6 separate regions of the Homo sapiens genome follow, and regions 1, 2, 4, 5 and 6 are each linked to region 3. The links are contacts of gene promoters, found by promoter capture Hi-C in blood cells and fetal thymus (Javierre and others, 2016). All regions are on one chromosome and are shown on one strand. Each heading gives the region's core, a stretch centred on a gene start or on the middle of the fragment in contact. The rest is flanking DNA. Distances are from core to core; before and after follow the strand shown.

Evidence for each region. Contacts are between HindIII fragments. The CHiCAGO score rates a contact against its expected background, and 5 or more counts as called.
Region 1: a contact is called between a fragment that was not itself captured here and the fragment with the promoter of CAPN7 in region 3, in 1 of 17 cell types (endothelial precursors). The highest score is 6.3, in endothelial precursors.
Region 2: a contact is called between a fragment that was not itself captured here and the fragment with the promoter of CAPN7 in region 3, in 1 of 17 cell types (M0 macrophages). The highest score is 8.1, in M0 macrophages.
Region 4: a fragment that was not itself captured here is called in contact with the fragment with the promoter of CAPN7 in region 3 in 4 of 17 cell types (M0 macrophages, megakaryocytes, M1 macrophages and 1 more); the score reaches 5.9 in M0 macrophages.
Region 5: a fragment that was not itself captured here is called in contact with the fragment with the promoter of CAPN7 in region 3 in 1 of 17 cell types (M0 macrophages); the score reaches 5.6 in M0 macrophages.
Region 6: a fragment that was not itself captured here is called in contact with the fragment with the promoter of CAPN7 in region 3 in 9 of 17 cell types (megakaryocytes, total B cells, M2 macrophages and 6 more); the score reaches 7.3 in megakaryocytes.

What each region holds. Positions count from the first base shown.
Region 1 is chr3:15,544,335-15,548,209 of GRCh38, reverse strand. No RefSeq gene overlaps it. Among named protein-coding and RNA genes, the nearest start is that of COLQ, 25 kb to the right of the region's middle. The HindIII fragment of the contact is 1,797 bases long and covers 1,054-2,850 here.
Region 2 is chr3:15,700,550-15,704,580 of GRCh38, reverse strand. All of the region lies in intron 14 of ANKRD28 (ankyrin repeat domain 28), which reads left to right. It also overlaps a transcript of BTD not described here. Among named protein-coding and RNA genes, the nearest start is that of MIR3134, 5.2 kb to the right of the region's middle. The HindIII fragment of the contact is 842 bases long and covers 1,497-2,338 here.
Region 3 is chr3:15,204,996-15,208,980 of GRCh38, reverse strand. It overlaps CAPN7 (calpain 7), which reads right to left and starts at 2,735. Exons shown (of 21, transcript NM_014296.3): 1 at 2,384-2,735. The coding sequence starts at 2,485. It also overlaps the pseudogene COL6A4P1. RefSeq lists a silencer at 2,510-3,029. The HindIII fragment of the contact is 5,244 bases long and covers 1-3,985 here.
Region 4 is chr3:15,629,342-15,633,113 of GRCh38, reverse strand. All of the region lies in intron 1 of BTD (biotinidase), which reads right to left. Among named protein-coding and RNA genes, the nearest start is that of BTD, 29 kb to the right of the region's middle. The HindIII fragment of the contact is 3,591 bases long and covers 1-3,371 here.
Region 5 is chr3:15,682,294-15,686,326 of GRCh38, reverse strand. It overlaps ANKRD28 (ankyrin repeat domain 28), which reads left to right. Exons shown (of 28, transcript NM_001349278.2): 19 at 18-105; 20 at 208-325; 21 at 882-1,101. It also overlaps a transcript of BTD not described here. Among named protein-coding and RNA genes, the nearest start is that of MIR3134, 13 kb to the left of the region's middle. The HindIII fragment of the contact is 1,853 bases long and covers 361-2,213 here.
Region 6 is chr3:15,577,293-15,580,889 of GRCh38, reverse strand. It overlaps HACL1 (2-hydroxyacyl-CoA lyase 1), which reads left to right. Exons shown (of 17, transcript NM_012260.4): 9 at 845-980. Among named protein-coding and RNA genes, the nearest start is that of HACL1, 22 kb to the left of the region's middle. The HindIII fragment of the contact is 7,521 bases long and covers 1-3,597 here.

The DNA of each region.
Region 1 (3,875 bases), core at 703-3,202, 340 kb before region 3:
CAAACCTAGAGAAAGATATTAATATTCAAGTACAAGATGGTTATAGAACACCAAGCAGATTTAACCTAAAGAAGGCTACCTCAAGGCATTTAATAATGAAACTCCCAAAGGTCAAGGATAAGGAAGTCAGCCTACAAGCAAGAGAAAAGAAACAGTATACAATGACGCTTCAGTACGTCTCGCAGCAGACTTTGCAGTGGAAACCTTACAGGCCAGGAAAAAGAGTGACATGACACATTTCAAGTGCTGAAGGAAAAAACTTTTACTGTAGAATAATATAACCAGCAAAAATTTCCTTCAACTGTGAAGAAGAAATACTTTCCCAGACAAAAGCTGAAGGGTTTCATCAACACCAGACCTGTCCTACAAGAAATGCTAAAGGGAATTCTTCAATCTGAAAGAAAAAGACCTTAATGAGCAATAAGAAATTATCTGAAGCTGCAGAATTCACTGTTAATAGTAAACACACAGAAAAACACAAAATATTATAACACTGTAATTGTGGTGTGCAAACTCATATCTTAAGTAGAAAGACTAAATGATGGACAAGTCAAAAATGGCCAGGCACAGTGGCTCTTGCCTGTAATCCCAGCACTTTGGGAGGCCAAGGTAGGCAGGTTGCTTGAGCTCAAGAGTTCAAGACCAGCCTGGGCAACATAGTGAAACCCTGTCACTACAAAAAAATACAAAAAATTAGTTGAGTGTAGTGGCATGTTCCTGCACTTTCAGCTACTCAGGAGGCTGAGGTGGGAGTCACCACCCTGGAGGTCGAGGCTACAGCCAGCCTGGGCGTTAAGTGAGAGCCTATCTCAAAACAAAACAATAACTGCAACAACTGTTCAAGACAGAGTTCAGTAAGGTATAAATTAAAACAAAAACAAAATAAAAAGTAGAGGGAAGAAGTTAAAGTGTACAGATTTTTTATTTTTATTTCTCACACTATACTGATGTAAAAAGTGTAGCATTTTAATTAGTTTTCTCTTTGCTTGTTTATACAAGTGTTAAGTTGTCATCAGTTTAAAGAAATGGGTTATAAGATATTATTTGCAAGCTTCATGGTAACCTCAAATCAAAAAACATATGATTGATAACACAAACAATAAAAAGGAAGAAATTAAAACATACCACTAGAGAAAATCACCTCGGCTAGAAAGGAAGACAGGACAGAAGGAAAGAAGGAAGAGAAGACCACAAAACAACCAGAAAACAAGTCATTACTTATCAATAATAACATTGAATGTAAATGGACTAAATGCTCCAATCAAAAAGCATAGAGTGGTTGAATGGATAAAGAAAAAAAAAGACCCAATGATCTGTTGCCTACAAGAAACACACTTCACGTATAAAGACACTCATAGACAAAAGAAAGGGATGGAAAGAGATACTCCATGCAAATGGAAATCAAAAAAGAGCAGGAGTAGCTATACCTGTATCAGACAAAATAGACTTCAAGACAAAAACTGTAAAAAGAGGCCAGATTATTATATAATTATAGAGGAGTCAATTCAGGAAGAGGATATAACAATTATATATGCATCCAATACTGGAGCACCCAGATATATAAAGCAAACATTAATAGAGTTAAAGAGAGAGATAGACCCCAATATAATAATAGTGGGAGACTTCAACACCCCACTTTCAGCATTGGACAAATCATCCAGACAGAAAACAAAGTAACATTGGACTTAATCTGCACTGCAGACCAGATGGACCTAATAGATATTTATAGAACAATTCATGCAATGGCTGCAGAATATACATTCTTCTCCTCAGCACATAGATTATTCTCAAGCATAGACCATATGTTAGGCCACAAAACAAGTCTTAAAACATTTTAAAAAACTGAAATAATATCAAGTCTCCTCCCTGATCTCAATGGAATAAAACTGGAAATCGATAATGAGGAATTTTGGAAACTATACAAACACATGGAAATTAAACAGTATGTGTCTGAGTAACCAATGGGTCAGTGAGGAAATTAAGAAGGAAACTGAAAAAATTATTGAAACACATGATAATGGAAACACAGCATACCAAAACCTATGGAATACAGCAAAGCAGTGCTAAGAGGGAAGTTTATAGCTATAAGTACCTACATCAAAAAAGTAGAAAAACTGGCTGGGTGCAGTGGCTCACGCCTGTAATCCCAGCATTCTGGGAGGCTGAGGTGGGTGGATCACCTGAGGTCAGGAGTTCAAGACCAGCCTGGCCAACATGGTGAAACCCTGTCTCTACTAAAAGTACAAAAGAAAAAAGCTGGGTGTGGTGGCACATGCCTGTAATCCCAGCTACTCAGGAGGCTGAGGCAGGAGAATTGCTTGAACCCAGGAGGCAGAGGATGCAGCGAGCCAGTATTGCACCACTGTACTCTAGCCTGGGTGACAGAGCAAGACTCCATCTCAAAAAAAAAAAAAAAAGAAAAAATAGAGAAACTTCAAATAAACAACCTAACAATATATCTTAAAGATTTAGCAAAGCAAGAGCAAACCAAACTTAAGATTAGTAGAAGAAATAATAAAGAGCAGAGCAGAAATAAATGTAATTGAAATAAAGAAAACAATGCAAAAGTTCAACAGAACAATTTTTTAAAAAATAAAATCCTTTCGCCAGATTAAGGAAAAGAGAAGACCCAAATAAATCAGAGATGAAAAAGGAGACATTACAACTGATATCACAGAAATTCAAAGGATCATTGGAGCAACTATATGACAAGAAATTGGAAAACCCAGAAGAAATGGATAAGTTCCTAGACACATACAACCTACCAAGATTGAACCATAAGTAATACCCCACAAGCACAGGCAACCAAAGCAAAAATAGACAAATGGAGTCACATCAAGTTAAAAAGCTTCTGCACAGCAAAGGAAACAAAGTGAAGAGACAACCCACAGACTGGGAGAAAATATTTGCAAACTACTCATCAGAATATATAAGGAGCTCAAACAGCTCTGTATGGAAAAAATCTAATACAATTAAAAAATGGGCAAGAGATCTGAACAGACATTTCTCAAAGTAAGTCATACAAATGGGAAACAGGTATATGAAAAGGTGCTAAATATGGTCATCAGAGAAATGCATATGAAAACTGCAATGAGATGCTTTCTCACCCCAGTTAAAATGGCTTTTATTCAAAAGACAGGCAATAACAAATGCTGGAGAGGATGTGGAGAAAAGGGAACTCTTGTACACTGTTGGTGGAATATAAATTAGTACAACCACTATGGAGAGCAGTTTGGAGGTTCCTCAAAAAACTGAAAATAGAGGGCCGGGCACAGTGGCTCACACCTGTAATGTCAGCACTTTGGGAGGCTGAGGAGGGTGGATCGCTTCAGCTCAGGTGTTTAGACCAGCCTGGGAAATATGGCAAAGCCCCATCTCTACAAAAATACAAAAATAAAAAATTAGCCAGGCATGATTGTATATGCCTATAGTCCCAACTACTCGGGAGACTAAGGATGGGGGATTGCTTGAGCCCAAGAGGTAGAGGCTATGGTGAGCCGAGAGTGTGCCACTGCTCTCCAGCCTAGGTGACAGAGCAAGACCATGTCTCAAAAAAAAAAAAAAAAAAAAAAAAAAAAACCCACTAAAAATAGAGCTACAATATGATCCAGCAACCCACTCCTAGGCTTATACCCAAAAGAAAAATCAGTATATTGAAGCAGTATCTGCACTCCCATGTTTATTGTAGCACTGTTCACAGTAGCCAAGTTCTGGAAACAACCTAAGTGTCCATCAGCAGATGGATGGATAAAGAAAATGTGGTACATATACACAATGGAGTACTATTCAGCCATAAAAAGAATGAGATCCTTTCATTTGCAGCAACATGGATGGAATTGGAGGTCATTATGTTAAGTGAAATAAGCCAGGCACAG
Region 2 (4,031 bases), core at 668-3,167, 500 kb before region 3:
GAGACAAATTCCTCAGAGCTTCCAATTGCTATTATTCAGTAATGTACATTTGCTTATTTGTTTTTTAAATGGTTTTTTAAAAATCCCCTGTCAGCATCACAGTTTCTACCTTTAAAGCTCCCCAGGAAAAGTTGTTGTTTATACTTTGGAATTTTTAACAATCTGACATTGGTTTTCTTTTGTTTAGGACCAACATACAGTAATTATAATTCTGCTCTGCCTTTTATCCCTTCATCCTCACTTTGAGTAAATAATTGGAAAAATACATGAAATCTTCCGTGACTCATTCTAGTCATTCTGCTTGTTACCCCCATTGTCCTGATGCCTGCGTTCTTGGTAGACAGTCATTCAGCAAGTCCTCTGAAGTGTCTTTATTTTACATCATGTAAGAATCCAGCAAACAAATATATGGCTGCTATCGCAATGAACATATTAAATATGTGAAATATTAATAAATAAAATTATATTTGCCTGTTGCAGATACGTATAGGGCTGTCTTTGAGCAGGATGTCATGTGGGTCTTCTCCACACCTGTGTGTAGTATGTATATAAGAGAAGGAAAGGTTGAGGGCTGTTTTTCCTGATTATAAGGAAGAAATTCCCCTCATACCAGCTCTCCTGAGATAACCATCATCAACAGTTATATTGCTCTGTGTGTATGTAGATTATTTTATGTCCCTCACAGCCTTAATCAAAGTTGAAGTCCTGGTATATGTTATAAAGCCTTTTCTATATCATATATAATTTTTTAAAATATTTTATGGGTTGTTATCTCTAGCCCGCACTTCATAACTCTTCCGTCCTCTATCCATTACCCAGTTCCAAAACCTCTTCCACATTTTAGATATTTGTTTCAGCAACATCGTAACTTCGCAATAACAATTCTCTTAGTCTGTTTGGACTGGTATAACAAAATACCAAAAACTGGGTGGCTTATAAACAACAGAAATCTTATTTCTCACAGTTCTGGAAGCTGAGAAGTCAAGAATATCAAGGCACCAGCACATTCAGTGTCTGGAGAAGGCCCACTTCCTCTTTGAGGGCATATTCTTGCCATATCCTCACATGGTAGAAGGAATGAGAGCTCTTTTGGGCCTTATTTATAAGGACACTAATCCCATTCATGAGGGAGGGCTCTGCCCTCTTGACCTAATCACCTCCTAAAGGCCCCACCTCCTAATAACATCACCTTGAGGTTGGAATTTCACCATGTGAATGGGTGTGGGGGGACATAAACATTTAGACCATAGCAACACTCTTAGGAAATGAGGCTACATTTTGACTTCTAATGGCAGTTTATTTTTGTCTGTTTTCAAACTTCATAAAAATGGGATCATGCAGTTTTTTGTGTGTAGAGGTTTTGTAATGCTGAGATTTATTCCTATGTATCTGATATTTTTTATTACCAAAATCAATCTTTAAATTTTTTTGTGTTGGTATATAGAAGATATATTTGCCTTTTGTATGTGACTTACATTCAACAACCTTGTTAAGCTTATTGTGTATATATATGTAAGAGCAGTGTTTGATACTAGCTCTGCCTTTTACTATGGGGACCTTCAGCAAATTACTTAACCTCTCTGTGCCTATTTAATCTGTGAAATGGAGATACTAGTCTAAACTCTGTCACGACTATGTAGAGTTTAAAATGGTTTAGTATATATGAATTGTTTGGAACAGTTCTGACGTATCCTAATCTTCCTATAAAGGTTAGTTGTATTTTTTAAAACTGATTTTTTGGGCCAGGGGTGGGGTGGTGGGGGGTGGTAAGAACTGTTGTATGCCATGATGGGAAGAGTAGAGAGGAGGGAGGGCCTCTTGGAGTGACAATACCACATCTGTTTTCCTGGCTGAGTGGTCCTTACCCAGGGCTCTGACTAGCCATGGGACACATGAATTTGAATCAGTCTGAACTTGCCTCAGAACTCAAAATAGTAGGGTTCATGAGTGGTAGGGTAAGAGTAGGAGAAATTTAAATAGTTTGAAATGCATTCCGATTTTAACCTATGTGGTTAGTGGGGATGAAGATATTTAATTTGCCTAACATTGAGGAAAAAATTGTAACAGAATATTGTTTAGCCTTAAATATTTTTTCAGATTTTGTGTATATATTTTATTTCAGAGGACAGATTATGGAGAATCTTCATTTCTTAATTGTCTGCGTTTCATAAAATGAACATGTGTTAATGTGCAAACAGAAAAAAGAGTATACAGACTCTTCTGCCCCCACCCTCTAATGAAGTTCACATTTTCAAGATCAAGCAATTTTGTGATTCAGTATTTTATAAGCACCCTAGTTAACTTACCACTGTAAGTGATTAACCACTGTTCTAAAGCTTTGTGGGAACATAGAACAATGGATAAAGGGAAGACCTGAGGTGGTTTAGTCCTTGGTTTGCCATATTCTAGCCAAAAGGATTTGGGAAAAGTCATTTAACTTAGTGTCAGTAATCTTTTTCATTTGTTAGAGATAATGCTTACCCAGAGTAATTATGAAAATTTATATTGTTTAGCAAAATCTGAAAGGTATGCCAATAAAAGAAATTGTATTAGAATAAGTTTTGTATTCAGGTCTCAGTAAGGAAGACCCATTTCTGTTTTATCACTAACATCTAGAGAACTTGATTAAAGATTTTTTTTAAATGCCCTTGGGTAAAATGTTTTTGCCTGTAAAGTATTCCTACAGACTTGCAGGCTTTTTCTGCATCCCAGTGAGCACTGTCCTCTGAATTCGGCACCAAGGAAGGCTGTGTACAGAGTTTACACACTGACTGAAACACTTCCTTTTCCTGACATGTCCTCAGAATTAGTTTGTGAAACAAAACAAAACACCAGTCTTATTACCTTAGAGCCAGACGTGGGTTTTATTTTATTTCTTTATCATAGTGATACCCACTTTAACCTTTTTATTTTATTTATTTATTTATTTATTTTTTGAGACGGAGTTTTGATCTTCTTGCCCAGGCTGGAGTGCAATGGTGCAATCTCAGCTTACTGCAACCTCCGCCTCCTGGGTTCAAGTGATTCTCCTGCCTCAGCCTCCCGAGGAGCTGGGATTACAGGTGTGTGCCACCATGCCTGGCTAATTTTGTATTTTTAGTAGAGATGGGGTTTCTCCATGTTGGTCAGGCAGGTCTTGAACTCCCGACCTCAGGTGTTCCGCCCACCTCCGCTTCCCAAAGTGCTGGGATTACAGGCATGAGCCACTGCACCCAGCTTAATCTTCTTTTTTTTATTATGCTTGACTCCAAAGAATTTTAGCTGTACATAAATATCAAAATTGCACTTAAATGGATGAATATTTGCTGCCATTGAAGATATTACAATGAAGATTCTGAAAGTAATTTCTAAGAGGTCTAAAGCATTTTAAGAAATTCAGCATTTAAAGAAATAAGTGTTAGCATTGAAATAATGGCTCTCATATATTTGTGAGCTAGAGTTACTGAAAGATCAGTTACATTGCTTTAGAATTTCTTTTCATTTGTTTTTATATGACTTCAGTGTGATTTTGGAAACTTTTAATAAGGAGTATTTGATTAAAGAATTTTTTCCCCAGGTAGTTTAATATTTGGGTAGACGTATTTGAATACCAAACAAATTATCACTGAATAATTATAGACTTGGAATTTGAACATGAATACACTTTAGATTATTTAGCTGGCTTCTCCATGTATCAAATGAATAAACAGAGGCTATTTCACTTTTATGGCCCAAGATCACTGGTACCAGTGCTATTTCAGTGCTTTTTTTTTCTGCTGTAATAAAATGTATTAAAATTGTAAATTATGGCCTATATACTGTTGTGTTTCTTTTGCAGTCTCACTCTGTCGCCAGGCTGGAGTGCAGTGGCGCGATCTCTGCTCACTGCAACCTCCGCCTCCTGAGTTCAAGCAATTCTCCTGCCTCAGCCTCCCGAGTAGCTGGGACTACAGGCGCCCGCCACCACACCCAGCTAATTTTTGTACTCTTGGTAGAGACAAGATTTCACCATGTTGGCCAGGATGGTCTTGATCTCTTGGCCTCATGATCTG
Region 3 (3,985 bases), core at 1,486-3,985:
TCTGAAACAAACCACACTTTATTGACAGCACATACATTTGTGAAAAAAAGTACTACTATTGTACAGTATTATCAAAGTCTGATAATCTTTCTAAAAGAAAAGGTGACACTATCATGAGGACACAGCTCCCTCCAAATCTAGCTAGAGCTAGAGGGGTATATTTGCAAATCCTCAGAATTGGAGAGAAGAGAGTGGACCATGGAAGCTCATACCCTTTGATTTATCAATTCTGTCCCCGGTAATTTATCCCAAAGAAAATTCAGGCAAAAATTTGCACTAGTCATAAGAATTAGTTATAAAGATATGAACTACATCGTTACTTATGATGTTGAAAAAACAAAATCAACTGAATGCCCAAGAGTCTGTAAATTAATTATAGTACACTGGACAGGCACAGAGGCTCACGCCTGTAATTCCAGCATTTTGGGAGACTGAGGCAGGAAGATCGCTTGACCCAGGAGTTCGAAACCAGCCTGGGCAACACAGCGAGACTCCATTTCTACACAAAAAAAAAAAAAAAAAAAAAATTAGCCAAGTGTGGTTGTGTCTACCTGTAGTCCCACCAATTGGGAGACTGAGGCAGGAGGATTGCTTGAGCTTTGCAGTTTGAGGCTGCAATGAGCTATTATTAGTGGGCCACGGCACTCCAGGCTGAGTGACAGGGCAAGACGCTGTCTCTTAAAAAAAAAAATATGGTACACCCACATAATGAACTACTGTGCAGCTATTACTAAAAACAGTATAAACCAGTTTGTAAAAAAAAAAAAAAAGCATATACACATACGCATAAAAAAACACAAAAATATAGTCACACACCACATAACATTTCAGTCAACAACAGACTGAATATATGATAGTGGTCCCCTAAGATTATAATGGAGTTGAAAAATTCCTATTGCCTGGTCATGTCATAGCCATCATAATGTCATAGCACAACACTTTACTCGCATGTTTGTGGTGATGCTGATGTAAACAAACCTACTGGGGTGCCAGTGGTGTAAAAGTCTACCACACACAATAATGTAGAGTACATAATACTTGATAATCAACAACTATGTTACTGGTTTATGTATTTACTATGCTATACTATGTACTGTTAGTATACTCCTTTTATAAAAAAAAGTTAACTATAAAACAGTCTCTGACATGTCCTTCAGGAGATATTTCAAGAGACATTGTTATCATAGGAGACGACAGTTTCATTCCTGTTATTGCTCCTGAAGACCTCCCAGTGGGACAAGATTGGAGGTGGAAGACAGTAATATTGATGATCCTGACGAGGTGTAGGCCTAGGCTAACGTGTGCCTTAGTTTTTAACTAAAGAATAAAAAAAAAAAAAGAAACAAAAAAACTTACCAAATAAAGATATAAAGAAAATGTTTGTGTAACTGCACAATAAGTTCGTTTTAAGCTATTACAAAAGAGTTAAAAAGTTAAGAAAATTTAGAAGTTTATAAAGTAAAAGGGTTACCGTAAGCTAAGGTTAGTTTATTACTGAAGAAAGATTAAAAAAATTTAGCGTAGCCTAAGGGTACACTGCTTATAAAGTCTACAAGAGTAGAGCAGTGAATGTCCCAGGCCTTCACATTCACTCACCACTACTCACCAACTCAGAGCAACTTCCAGTCCTGCAAGCTCCTTTTGTGGGTAAGTGCCCCACACTGGTGTAGTATTTTTTTTTTATCTTTTATGCTGCATGTTTACTGTACCTTTTCTATGTTTAGATGCACAAATACTTACCACTGCATGTAACTGCACACACCACTGAGTACAGCAACACGCTGCGCAGGCCTGTAACCTAGGAGCAACAGGCCATGCCATACAGCTTAGGTGTGGAACAGGCTGTACCATTCAGGCTTGTGTAAGCGCTTTCTACGGTGTTCGCACAACAACAAAATGGCCTAAGAACACATTTCTCAGAAAATATCACATCGCTAAGGACGCATGACTGTATGTCAAATGCTATGACAGGAGATGGTTTTTATTCTTTTTAAGTTTATTTAACGAGCATGCATTATTTTGATATATATCACAGGCCATTTCCCGCTAGCTGTAAATCAGAGTCAAGTGACAGCAAGAATTGGCTACTAACTACCCATATCTAACACCTGCCCCCCAAAGCGGCTCAACGGTGGGCATTTGCCAGTCAGGACTACAGGTGGAGGAGCGGCGGCTGCAAGCCGCGACCCAGCCTCCCCGCAGCCTCAGCGTCGGCCTCTGCACTCGGGCTTGCCGCTCCCAACAAGAGGAGGGCCGGGAGGCGGACGAGGGAAAAGCAAAGCCGGGGCCGCTAGCCTCCGCACCCGGATCCCGCCCCTCGGCCGCAGGCCCGGGCCGCACTCCGACTGAGCAACTCCGACCGAAGCGCCGGGCCCGGCCCTACCTTGTAATAAAACACCGCCTCGGAGTAGCGGCCTTCGTGGTCGCGCTGAACCGCCAGACGGGCGAACTGCACAGCGTCCCGCTCCAGTGCTGTGGCGTCCATGGCGCAGTGGCCCCGCGCCGGGGCAGGGAAGGAGGCCCTGACGCAGGACGGCTCTTCGCGGACTGCGGCGGCCCGGCGGCGGCGAGGACTCGGGAGCGCCGCGGAAGGAGCGGCAAAGTTTACTTTGGACGGTGGAGGAGAGCTCGCCTTCCCGTTGCCGGGCTGGGGTCCACCGCGAAGCCGCGCCCCTCAGCCCAGACCCGGCTTGTAGCCCACCCGGCCGCCCCACTTCGCGGCCCCAGCGGCCCTCGCCCCGCCCACCAGCCGCCCGACGCAGGCGCAGCCTGGCCCTCACGAGCTCCTTAGAAGCTGGGGCCGCCGAGGCCAGGCTCGCGGGACTGCGCGGGCTGTGGGCGGGGCCGGGCCCACGCAGGAGCCGGGCCGCGGGGGCGGGGCAAAAAGGCCTGCCGCTGTGCACGTGACCGTCGCGGCGCCCGGGATTGAGCAGCTGAGGGCAGGTGCCACGTCCGAGCTGCCCACACACCGCCTTATGCGTGGCGGTGGCGGTGCAGGGCGAGGCTGTTTTCGTCGACAGTGGGCAGTAGAGGGGTACGCGCCTTACAGATCCTTTCCTCTGTTAAGTGTAAGGGATGGGAGTAAAGAGCTAAGGAAGAATGCCTCCCACCAGCATCTGACACATTAAAAAAATTACCGTGAGGACAGAGGTTCTTTAGAGTCACTCTTCGCTAACATTTATTTTCATTTGTTTTCCACAAGCTGAATCATGACCCTATAGCCCCCCACTGTACACCAAGGTCGTATTGATTGAATTGTTAACAAACAAGGTAATGTATTTCCACTTGTACTTACCCTTAGGTTAACTTGATGCTGTTGTAATTAAATACTTAATTAGGTGATTATTTGATTTATGTCTTCTCTCCCCTAAAGGTCTGAAGTCAGCAGTAATAAAAATGAATTAGTGATGGGCACCACCAAATTCATGCTGAGTCAAAGAAGTAAGAATTGAGTACATAATGTATAATTCCATCTATAAGAAACACTAGAAAACACTACGATGTTAGAAAGCAGATCAGTGGTTGGGAAGGGGATACAAAGGAATCTTTTCGGATGATGAGAATGTTTTATATCTCAATGGTGGTGTAAAAATATATACGTTTGTCAAAACTTATCAAACTACATTTTAAGTGTGTACTTTTAATTTTTTAATTATACTCTAAATTTTTTTTCAGTCATTTGGCCTGCATTTAAAATGGGACTCTAATTTCTTAGTTTAAGTGTATTTCTTCACATTTAGTGAAGTTCTTAATAACAACGGTCTCATCAGGCTGTTATAAAGACACACAGAATTTGATTTTGTGCCTGGCCCAAAGATGGCTCTCAAAGGTAGCAACTACAGTTTTATAGCTGAAGCAGGGATGCTTCCTGTCTTTACCACTTTGATCCCAGCGTTGAGCGCAAGCCTTGTTCCAGAGCAGGTGTTCAACAAATATTTTAAAATGTTGAATGAGTCAACTCCACTACTTAAATATATCTAATGTG
Region 4 (3,772 bases), core at 327-2,826, 430 kb before region 3:
TGTATTAGGTAGTGTAAGGGATCTAGAGATGATTTAAAGTGTACAGGAGGAAGTGTTTAGGTTACATGTAAATTCTACACCATTTGATATAAGGGACTTGAGCATCTGAGGGTTTCGGTATCCACGGGGTCCTGGAACCAGTCCCAACAGATACTGAGGGACAACTGTACATCAATTTGCCCTTCCCAAAGAAACATTTTACCCAAATTAGCAAATGCTGCTTTTCTCTCTTTGGCATCACACATACCTTCTCAGGAAAAAGTAAATAGGGCCTGTGGCAAGGACTCTGAAGGGTTCAGCAGGCAGCAGCGGGAGGTGCTCAGTTGTAAAGTGGCAGGACTAGAGGTAGGGCTGGAGGGGCCCAGGCATCCCCCAGAAGCCTTCCAGCAGCTACCAGGTGCTGGCCCGTGAGGTTATGCACGGGACGACTGGGGTGCGGGGCCTTCCTGGGAACAAGGGGCCCTGGAAGTCATGGGGTTCTTGGAAATACAGCAGCTGACCCATCTTTAGAGCTGGTCAGGACCTGGACCATAAAGAAAATGGTAACTAGAGGTGTGACAAGGTGGCAATGTACTTGCTTTCATTGAAGGGCATCTGACATAGGAGAGTAAACTGCAGGAAGGGTCCAGTGTGAAAGCACAATTGAGGCAACCATGTGCACGCCCTCTGAGATGAGGGCCTTGGCTCGTGGGGTGTACTGAACCCCACTTCCAGGGAACAGCAGAACCAGGAAGGTGCTGGCTTCAGACAGCCATGCAATTCCCAACTGTGGGCCAGCCCCAGGGGTTAGGTGTCAGGGGTCCAACAGTGGACAAGACAGACCCTTCCTCGTGGGGCTCGTGCTCTGGATAACTGTGTGAGATGGTGATTAAGCACAAAGGAGAAATGAGGCAGTGAAGGTGGTAAGGTGAGGCGAGGGGGACAATTTTAAGCAGTGTGGTCAAGGAAGACCTCGATGAGAGGGTGATGTTTGGACCGAGGCCTGAAGGGGGTTCGGGAGGAAATCACGTGGGTCTGCGAGGTGAGAGCACGGCAGGCAGAGAGCCTGAGGCAGGAGCATGCCTCACGGGCGGGTGCAAGAAACAGCAAGGACAGCAGGGGGCTGGAGCCAAGGGGACAAGGAGAAAGTGGCAGCAAAAGGAATCACAGAGAGAGAAATGACAGGGACCTGCTTAGTGGTCTCCTAACATCCCCCTGCATTTGTCCTCATCCTCTTCCATTCTGGACTCATAAGAGCAGCCAGTGAGATCCAGAGAAAGCCTGAGTCTACCAAGGTGCACCTCTGAAACTCTTCCAGTGACTCCCCAGTTCACGTAGCGCAGAAGTCAAAGTCCTTACAATAAGCCAATAGAAAGCATCTGGGAGACAGGAAACACTTGGCAGGTGGGGAGAGATGCAGAGTGGCATCTTGAAGTAAGCATCCTGATCTTGGACGGCCCTACAGAAGCTCTGCTTCTGATTTCATAAGGAAAACATTCCCCCAACACCAGTCCTGATCAGGAAGGTTCTTTCCATCTAATAGGAAAAATCAGTCTCAATTACATGGAAATCTATTTCATGTAAATTTGGTAATATGTCAATCACTAGATATTTTTACACACAAGGGATTTTTCCCCACCTTGCTAAATGATTCATCTTAATAATTAGCTGTGTTTCCTTCCTAGCCATGCTATTACAATAGTGTCTTCTGAAATAAAATGAGAGGGATTATTATTAAGGCATTCTTAATAATTTCAGAGGCAGATACATACATTAAAAAATCTTTAAAAGATAAATAAAACATCTTTTTAATAAAATATCTTGTCATTCTTTACTTGTCAGGGAGAATAGCAATCCTATGATTAGGAAAGGAGGCAGGAAAAGTTGGCAGAGGAGATGTCACATCCTGTGGAACAAAGCCTGAGGGAACTGCTAAGTCATTAGGAACCGGCATAGTATACATTTCTATGTGTAGTGACTGAATGCCAAGAAAAACATTGGGAAGTTCCAACAGTCTTTAAATTATTCTCATGAATTTCGTGACTTCATTGTCTAAATTCTTTTACATAAACAGGAGAAATAATGTCTATCTTCACCTAATTTATATGATCTGAATTTAAAGAAATCACAAAAATGATCTTTTATTTCCCAGAAAGTCTTCTCTTGCCTCTTGTTATCTGATTGTCACATCTGAGTGTGCTGGTCATGAGCTTGTCCGTGACCGGCCCCTGGAACAAGAAGCTCCACAATGGTTCTCGCGTGGGCAGCTTTGTTTAAACCCACCCACTACCAAGACGTTTGATGTCTCATTCGGAAAGTTCAAGGGTAAACACTTGTGAGTGACAGCTGATGATTTAAGCCTGAACTCACCAGCAACTGTGAATAAGTTATCAAGCTAATATGTCCTCTGAGTTGAGGTGGTAAATTGTAATTTCACTTTCAAAAAAAATTCCAGCTATTATTTTAAAAAAAGAGAATGATATACAGAAGTGTAACTGTGCACTGTGCCTTTGATTAGCCAGTTTCTGCTCCATTGGCTAGAATAATTTATCCTAGGAAACCAAATGTGCAATCAAAGGATCTTGACATTTCAACTGAAACACGTTATATCTTTCTTTTCCTCAAATGAGAAACTGCCTTCACAGTTTAAGTCAAATAAAACTTCTTCCTGAAATGCCCAGGTATTTAATGTAAGAAGGCTTTTTTGCACATGGAATTTGAATAACAGTCTGTCTTTCACTTTCTATAGACAGAAGGAACCCCGGCTGAGACTGATTCTCAGACAGTTGCTACTGCCACTCCGTGGACAAACTGAGTATCATTAACCCAAGTGGCTACGCATGTGACCTTAGGTATCGCAATAGCAGAGCCATTCTTAAGCAGTAAATGGATGGCTTTTCCCCCCTTTCCTTCTCCATTTCTAATACTTCATCTATCTCTTTTACAGTTAAACAAGACCCAGAAAGCATCTGACTTTCAAGATTTGAGTTTCATGAAAGCTGTTTTTTACTCACCACACTCCCACGATGGCATCTTTTTGAATTTGTTGCAATTTCATACAATATGACTGGATGTAAAAAGTGACGCTGCCCATTCCCCCTGTGACACACAGCGTCTGCGTGGGGAAATCTGTCTGAATTAAGGGATCTACAATCAATGCCACATTGCATTTTACATGCAATATAAACCGTTTGAATATCCATTATTATTATTTTTTTATCTTCCTGCCACACAAAGCAGAGAAAGCAGATGGTAAAAATTCCATCTTCATGGTGAGGGAAAACTCCAGGACTGGTTAGTAATGATAATGAGACTGGGAGCCAGGTCTCCTGGCTTCTGGTCCAGCCTGCCTAGTGCATGTTGAAGAACCAGGGCAATTTAGTGGTCAAGCTTTAATGACCACTGCGGAGGTGAAACCCTGTCTGTACTAAAAATACAAAAAGTTTGCCGGGCATGGTGGCACGTGTCTGTAATCCCAGCTACTCCGGGAGGCTGAGGCAGGAGAATCGCTTGAACTCGGGCGGCGGAGGTTGCAGTGAGCCCAAATCGCACCATTGCACTCCAGCCTGGGTGACAGAGTGAGATTCCATCTCAAAACAAAACAAAACAACCACCGTGGAGTCTTCAATACGCTGCAGGGGAAATAAGCAGAAATTTCAAGGTAGCTCTCCCAAGGGAGATTCTGGGTGATCAGACCAGAGCAGAGGGTCTCAAATGTAAGCACGCCATCAGAGTCACCTGAAGGCTTGAACACACAGATCTCTGGAGCCCATGCCTGGAAGTTTTGATTGAG
Region 5 (4,033 bases), core at 38-2,537, 480 kb before region 3:
TAAATTTCACTTTACAGCAACAAATGGTCATTCAGAATGCTTACGGCTATTAATAGGAAATGCAGAACCACAGAATGCAGTGGATATTCAAGATGGAAATGGACAGTAAGTTTCGATAAATAATTGTTGCATCACAGAAGGGCGTATTTCGAAAACCAGAGTACAGTCTTAAGTGACAGCACTGAACCTATTCCTGTTGTTGCTCAGGACGCCTCTGATGCTATCTGTTCTCAACGGGCACACAGACTGTGTTTACTCATTGCTGAACAAAGGAGCAAATGTAGATGCCAAAGATAAGTGGGGAAGGACAGCGTTGCATAGAGGGGTAAGCAGAAATATGCTCTTTCCTTTCAAAAAGCTTTTATGACCTCATATTACCTAGAACTGAACTAGGTTATGTTTATTTTTTCTTCATTAAATGTTCGTCAAATAGTCTTTACCATTTCTTTCAGTATCTTAGTTTTTAAATGCTAATTTTGAACAATTACAGAGTACAACTTAATCTAGAGAACAATGTTAGAACAAAATTTTAAAACTCTAAAACTTTTAGTAGAATTAATGTCAATTTGACTTTTTCCATTATCTCACTTATTTTCTTATACACTTTAATCTTTTTTCACCTTTGAAATATCATTATTTTCATTGAATACCAAGTTTCTCTCTTCCTGTTTTCATACTATTTGCATTTTAGAAGGGTTCTTGCTTTAACTGAATTTTTAAACCACTTCCAATAAAAATACAGAATTACTCATAAAATGATAAATGGCTTTAATTGATGGAAGGATATGGAGAGTATGGTCTTTAAAGTTTTTAATTAGCTGAAATTGGCATGTAATGTTTAGCATAATATGTTTGACTACCTTTAAATTATTTTCTTTCAGGCAGTTACAGGCCATGAAGAATGTGTAGATGCATTACTTCAACATGGTGCTAAGTGCTTACTTCGGGATAGCAGGGGCCGGACGCCTATACACCTGTCTGCTGCCTGTGGACACATTGGTGTTCTTGGAGCCCTTTTGCAGTCAGCAGCATCTATGGATGCAAATCCAGCCACAGCAGACAATCATGGATATACGGCACTTCACTGGGCTTGCTACAATGGTTAAGTATACAAACACAAATGCATATCATTGTGTAGTGAACAGAGATAAAAGAATGACATATTTATAAGGCAAATTTTAAGTTTAAAATTAGCAAAAACCTTGGGAATAATCTACTGTATAGGCTCACGTACTAATAATACTTAGTACGTAGGCTCACTCCTGTCCTTTGTCATGCTAAAGCCAAGACACTAGTTGTCAAAGGTGTTCTGAGATAAGCCATGAAGTATTTTTGAGGTTTTTCTTTTCTTTTCTTTTCTTTTTTAGTTTTGGTAGGATCTTGCTATGTTGCCCAGGCTGGTCTTGAACTCCTGGCATCAAGTGATCCTCCCACCTCAGCCTCCCAAAGTGTTGGGATTACAGGCATGAGCCACCATGTAGCCTGAAGTTTTTCTTAGATCCTTATTTCCACAAATATTTTGCATTTTTAGGAGGTTTTTAGAATGTTTCCATTGCTTTTATATAGTGTGCTTGTATTTTGATTGTGTTCTTTTACTATTTTTTTTTTTTTAAGAGTCCCACTATGTTGCCCAGGCTGGTCTTGAACAACTGGGCTTAAGCAATCCTCCCACATCAGACTCCCCAAGTGCTAGGATTACAGGCATGAGCCATTGCACCCAGCCATGTTCTTTTACTTTCTAAATACAATCATATTAGGGGAAAAATAACCAAAAGTAGGAGAAACAGTGAGATGTATCACATTCTAAACTGAAATCTATGTATGTTTTCTGAGCACATTGCAAGATAACATTCTTATATTACCAGTAATATCCATGTTCAATGTTTTAAAGGAATAAATCCCTAGCAGGTCTTAGAATTAGAAACTTTGATGGGTTAACTCTGCTACATGGTTAAAAGAGATTTTCTTTGGCCTCCTACAGGCTCACAGTCACAGTCATCGCTTTTATAGGTAGACTCATAAAAGGTCACGTAGGGAAGCATAAAGCTACTTTGAAGTTATAGATGTTAAAAATGCAGTTTGGCTTATGAAATGCCACTAATTAAAATAATTTATGCAATGAAGCATGTTGAGATATTTTTAGATTTGATCATCTTAGAAAACTCAAGTACATTATATACAGTGCAAGCATCAGTGTTGTCAAAGTTCAAGCTTCAGGCTTTAGTAGAGAAATTAGAGGTTTTTAAAATTTGTTTTCAATTTCAGTGTAGCTTCAAGATTAATGTTAATTATGACAGCAGATCTACAAAGCTGTAGTTCACAATTCTAATAACCTTCCCTCAAAATGCAGAGAAAATATAAGTTGTCTCTTTATATAAATACCCATTTGCTAAAAATAAATAAGTATAATATCTGTTGTAAAATCAGACTGCCTTACCAGGAAGTTGAGATTTCCTATCTTTCTATAATATGCTGTTTCATAGTTCTTTCACTGGGAGCTGTTCTGACAAAGTTATCAAGTTAAAGCAAAAGAGGAAAAAGCTGAATCTTGTAAAATTATAACTTCATTAAATGTTTCCACAAGTATTTCTGAGATACAATATTTTGATTTTCATATTAGTCCTTATGCCAAAGTTGGGAGTTGTATTCTTTTGCCGTTAGAACATTTTGGGTTCTTGAGGTTTGTCCTGTTATACTGTTGGTTATCCTTCAGCTGAGTACTGATAGCACCATAAAAACTTGAATAGTTAAATCTGTTGCTCATTGAACAAGCTAGTTTAGTCTCTTTGTTTTTTACTACCTTAAATCCTTAACCAAAACAGTTTTGAAAACTATAAAACCTTTGGGGTTTAACTTCTCTTTTTCCCATTTCTACTCGCTAAGGCAAGTAGAAATGAGTGTAGTGAAGTGGCCAGAGACTAGTACTCATACTAGAACAAAGAAGATACTGTATTTTGCCATTGATGTTTGATTTGTTTCTGTAATGTGACTTGACATTTTACAAGTATAAGGAAAACCCAAAATATCTAATATAGTGGGAAAATATCTACAATTGTGAGTTGTGTTTCTGTAAAAAAGTCAGTGAGATAAAACTGTTCAGAAGCAAAGACTTACTGCTTGGTTTTTAAAAAAATATATCCCTGAAGATTAACCATTGGAAAAATCACACAGTGAGATATTTTTCCTCAGGAAGAGCATTTAGTTGTAAATGTACTGCTGTAACTGTCCTTTGGAGAGTTGCTTTCTATTACAGTGTTTGTTATCAGATCTATATGTAGAACATTTTCCCTAAAGTGAGTTCCTACTCTATCACTGCTAAATTTAGACTCTAAGCACGTTTTGTGCAAGAGACAGAATTTTGCAAGAACTGCATGCCTGGTTGCCATTTAAAGATCATAACAAATGTGTCTGATTTTCAGCCTGTAGCAAAATTGTGGTGATGCTGAATTTGAGCTGGAAGGAATTTAATGTGTGTTGGCTATATGCAATAAGCGACTATATAGACAGCCTAAAATTAATACCATATTTATAGCCAAAAGCCCGTTTTATAATTTGGCATTCTGAAAGTAGAATATGTAAAATGGTTTTTACTTTAACTAGTAATTATTGTACAGCTGGAAAGAAAAGTGGAAGCATGCCAACAGAACAGAAAACAACCTCTTAAAATTAAAATGAAATGATGGCCAAGTTTTAGAAAAACACTGGCTGTAGATACTAAAAGTTCACAATTTCAGTTTATATAGTCATTCAATCACAGAACTTAAGAATACTTATTATTCCTTTAAAAAATGTGTTCATTTTTATGAAGCTCTAAACATCCTCAGACTAGCCTCTGAAACTCAGGAGGACCCAGTTTACCATCCTATCTATCTTTCATAAATGATGATAGAAAGTTATGAGATTGTCTGCTTGATATCACCCAGTAATGATTTCTGGAGGTCACAAAGGGGCCCCACTGTTCCCTTTTCTCAGTCTGTACTCAGATGGTGAGTGGTTCTCAAACCCTTTGGTCTCAGGAACTATGGATTGATAC
Region 6 (3,597 bases), core at 1,074-3,573, 370 kb before region 3:
CCACTGGGGTTAGCTCTGTTACAATCACAGAATTACAGAGCCTGTAGAAAGATCTGCAGATCTTTAGAAACTTAATGCACCTTAGAATTTCCATGCCTGGACTAGGAGGCCTTGTGTAGAGGAGGTTTACTGGAGATGAGGACCAACATATGAGGGTAGAGAGAGCCTTTCTCTTTCAGGGCAACATTTTTCCCTGGCCACCTGGGCCTCTCAATGAAGATAGTGTGTTCAGGGACTTGTAGAGTGTAGTTTAGTAGGACCATAGCATAGAATGGGTAAGTGACAGTAGCAAGAGCTGTGAGATGTGACTTTTGTTTTGGGATAGACATCCTTCAGGATAATTGAGAGTGTTATTGGTGGAAAATTAGAACTCTTACTTTGTTAAGCATTTTAAAATACCAGCGATAAAAACTGTAATCACAATTTGTTTTGAGTTTAAGCCCAGGTATAGGCAGAAGGAGAGTATTTGAGAAGATCTACAAGTAATTTCTTAGGAGGTCAAGGAAGGAGGATTGCTTGAGCCCATGAGTTCAAGACCAGCATACCAGCTGGGCAATATAGGGAGACCTCGTCTATACAGAAAATTTTAAAAGTAGCTGAGTGCGGTGGTGATGTGTGTCTGTAGTCCCAGCAACTCGGGAAGCTGAGGAGGAAAGATTGCTTGAGCCAGGGAGGCAGAGGTTACAGTGAGCCAAAATCATGCCACTGCACTCCAGCCTGGGTGATAGAGTGAGTCCCTGTCTCAAAATATAAATAAGTAAAAAGCAATTTCACATGAACTTTTTTAAGGGTCACAGTGCCTATAGCTTAACTGAATTGTCCAATACATTTGCATTTCTTATAGGTGCTGCTTACGCTCATGCAGAAGAGAGTATCAAGAAATTGGTGGAGCAATATAAACTGCCATTTTTGCCCACCCCTATGGGGAAGGGTGTTGTCCCTGACAACCATCCATACTGTGTAGGTGCAGCCAGATCCAGGTGTGTGGCATTCCAGATTTTAAATACAATGGCTTGGTAGATTTTAGGCTAATTTAAATTATTTTGTGATCTTCATCTAGGATGGAGTTCTGAAAGAATCATGGAATTTTAAGCATACCTGTTTATTTTTGGACTATCTTCTGGCTTTCATTTCATATGAGAAATCTGCAGTCATTCAAATTATTGTTGCTCTGTATGTAATATGTTGTTTTTCCATGGCTGTTCCCAAGATTTTCCTTTGTCTTTTGTTTTCAGCAGTTTAAGTATGATGTGCCTGGAAATGGTTTATTTTAATTTAGCCTTTTGGGATTCTCAAATCTTGAATATTTAAATTTATGTCTTTCTCTAAATTGTCTTTCTCTAAATTTGGAAAGTTTTCATCATTCTTTCTTCAAATATTTTTTCTATGTCAACCTTCATCCATTTTGATACTGTCTGACATGTCCCCGAGTATCTATCTGTTCATTTCTTTTTAATCCTTTTATTTTATATTTTGCTTCTCTGCTGAGATCTTCTATTTTTACATTTCTTTTAAGAATATTTTTCTATACTTCATGATGGGGTAAATTATAATAGTTTCTGCAGTCTTTGTTTATTAATTCCAACATCTGAGTCATCTCAGATTGGCATCTATTCATTATCTTTTCTTTTGAGAGTTGATCACATTTTTCTGGCTCTTTTTGTACTGAGTAATTTTGGATTGTATCCTGGATTTTTGGATATTGTATTTGGAGATTCTGGGTCATATTAAAATCCTCTGTAGAATGTTGATTTTTGTTGGTTTCTCTTAGCAATCAGTCAACGTGATTAGATTAGCTTGACTACAAATCGAAGTGTGAACTTAACCATATATAAGTAGTTCCAGGGTCACTTCAGTTTCAGAGCCTTTGCTGTGCTGTTTTGAGTCTGTCTGCACATGTCCAGCTCAGGGGTGAGCCCCAGACATGTACTGGTTCATACCCAGAATTAGGGATTTATTTTCTCTCCTCTGTAGGCTCCACACCCCCACTCTCCCATTCTCAGTTGCCCCTTTTCCTGGCTCTTGCTGCTCCCTTATAGTATCACATAACTAAAGCTGCCCTCTGAACAAGCTGCAGAAGAAAAAAATAATGGGGATTGTCCCCATACTCTTCAGACCACAGGGACCCTTTTTCCCAATCCCTCTTGCCTCAAAGATGACGTTTCTCTTGGAATTTCAGCTGCTTGGGAGCCACCACCATGCAGCTCTGCAGTAAGGCTGCCCTCAGAGCAGAGCTTGGAGATAAAGAAAAAAAGAAAAAAAATCTGACATTTCCCCCCATACTCTCCAGCTTGCAGTGGCCCTTTTCCTGATCCTTTGGCCAAAAAAACAGTTTCTCTGCAAGTTTTCGCTGCTTGCAGTTCTGCAACTAGGGCTGCCTTTGAGTCAAAGCCAGGAGACAAAACACGGGGGAGAAATACCTTGGAAACTTACCCTCTGTGTGGGTTGCTTCTTCAAACTTAGCCAATCTTGGCTGGCATTGGAAGTTTCCTCTTTTTAGATTTTTAAGGCATGCTTTTTAATATACTATAACTTTTTTCTTTTTAATTTCTTGAAATGTCTTTATTATGAAATATTCTAACTATACACACAGGAAGAGAGAATAATGTAATGAACACTTACATAACCACCACTCAACTTTATCAGCATCAACATAAAAAATATAGACAGATGAATCTCTAAGTAAAAAAAGGTTTCATTTGGCAGTAATGTATAAGAAGTAGGATTGCATCAGTTATTAACATTGTTTTATATTGCTTTAGGGTTTTTGGTTTTTTTTTTTTTTTTTTTTTGAGACGGAGTCTTGCTCTGTCACCCAGGCTGGAGTGCAGTGGCGCGATCTTGGTTCACTGCAAGCTCTGTCTCCTGGGTTCACACCATTCTCCTGCCTCACCCTCCCTAGTAGCTGGGACTACAGGCGCCTGCCACCACACCCGGCTAATTTTTTGTATTTTTAGTAGAGATGGGGTTTCACTGTGTTAGCCAGGATGGTCTCCATCTCCTGATTTTGTGATCCGCCCGCCTCAGCCTCCCAAAGTGCTGGGATTACAGGTGTGAGCCACTGCGCCCAGCCGGTTTTTGGGTTTTTTTTGGAGACAGGGTCTTGCTCTGTTGCCTGGACTGGAGTGCAGTGGTGCAATCACACCTGATTGCAACCTCTGCCTGCTGGGCTAAAGCAATCCTCCCACCTCAGCCTCCCAAGTATTAATAGCTGGAACTACAGGTGTGTGCCACTACAACCCAGCTAATTTTTGTATTTTTTGTAGAAACGAGGTTTCACCGTGTTGCCCATGCTGGTCTTGATCTCCTGGGCTCAAGGAATCCACCCTTCTAGGCCTCGCAAAGTGCTAGGATTACAGGCATGAGCCACCATGCCTGGCCTAAGGTGTTTTTTTTTTTTCTTTTTAGGAAGCAAAAAATTATGGATTCATTTGCAGTCCCCTAAATATCTTTTTTGATGCCATTTCTTGCTTCCCTTTCTGTAGTTTATTACTGTCATGTGTTTGGTGTTCTTCATATTTTCATTCATGGGTTAAAATTAATTCTGAGGGTTTTTGATTTTTATTTTGTAGAGACAGGGCCTCACTGTGTTGCCCA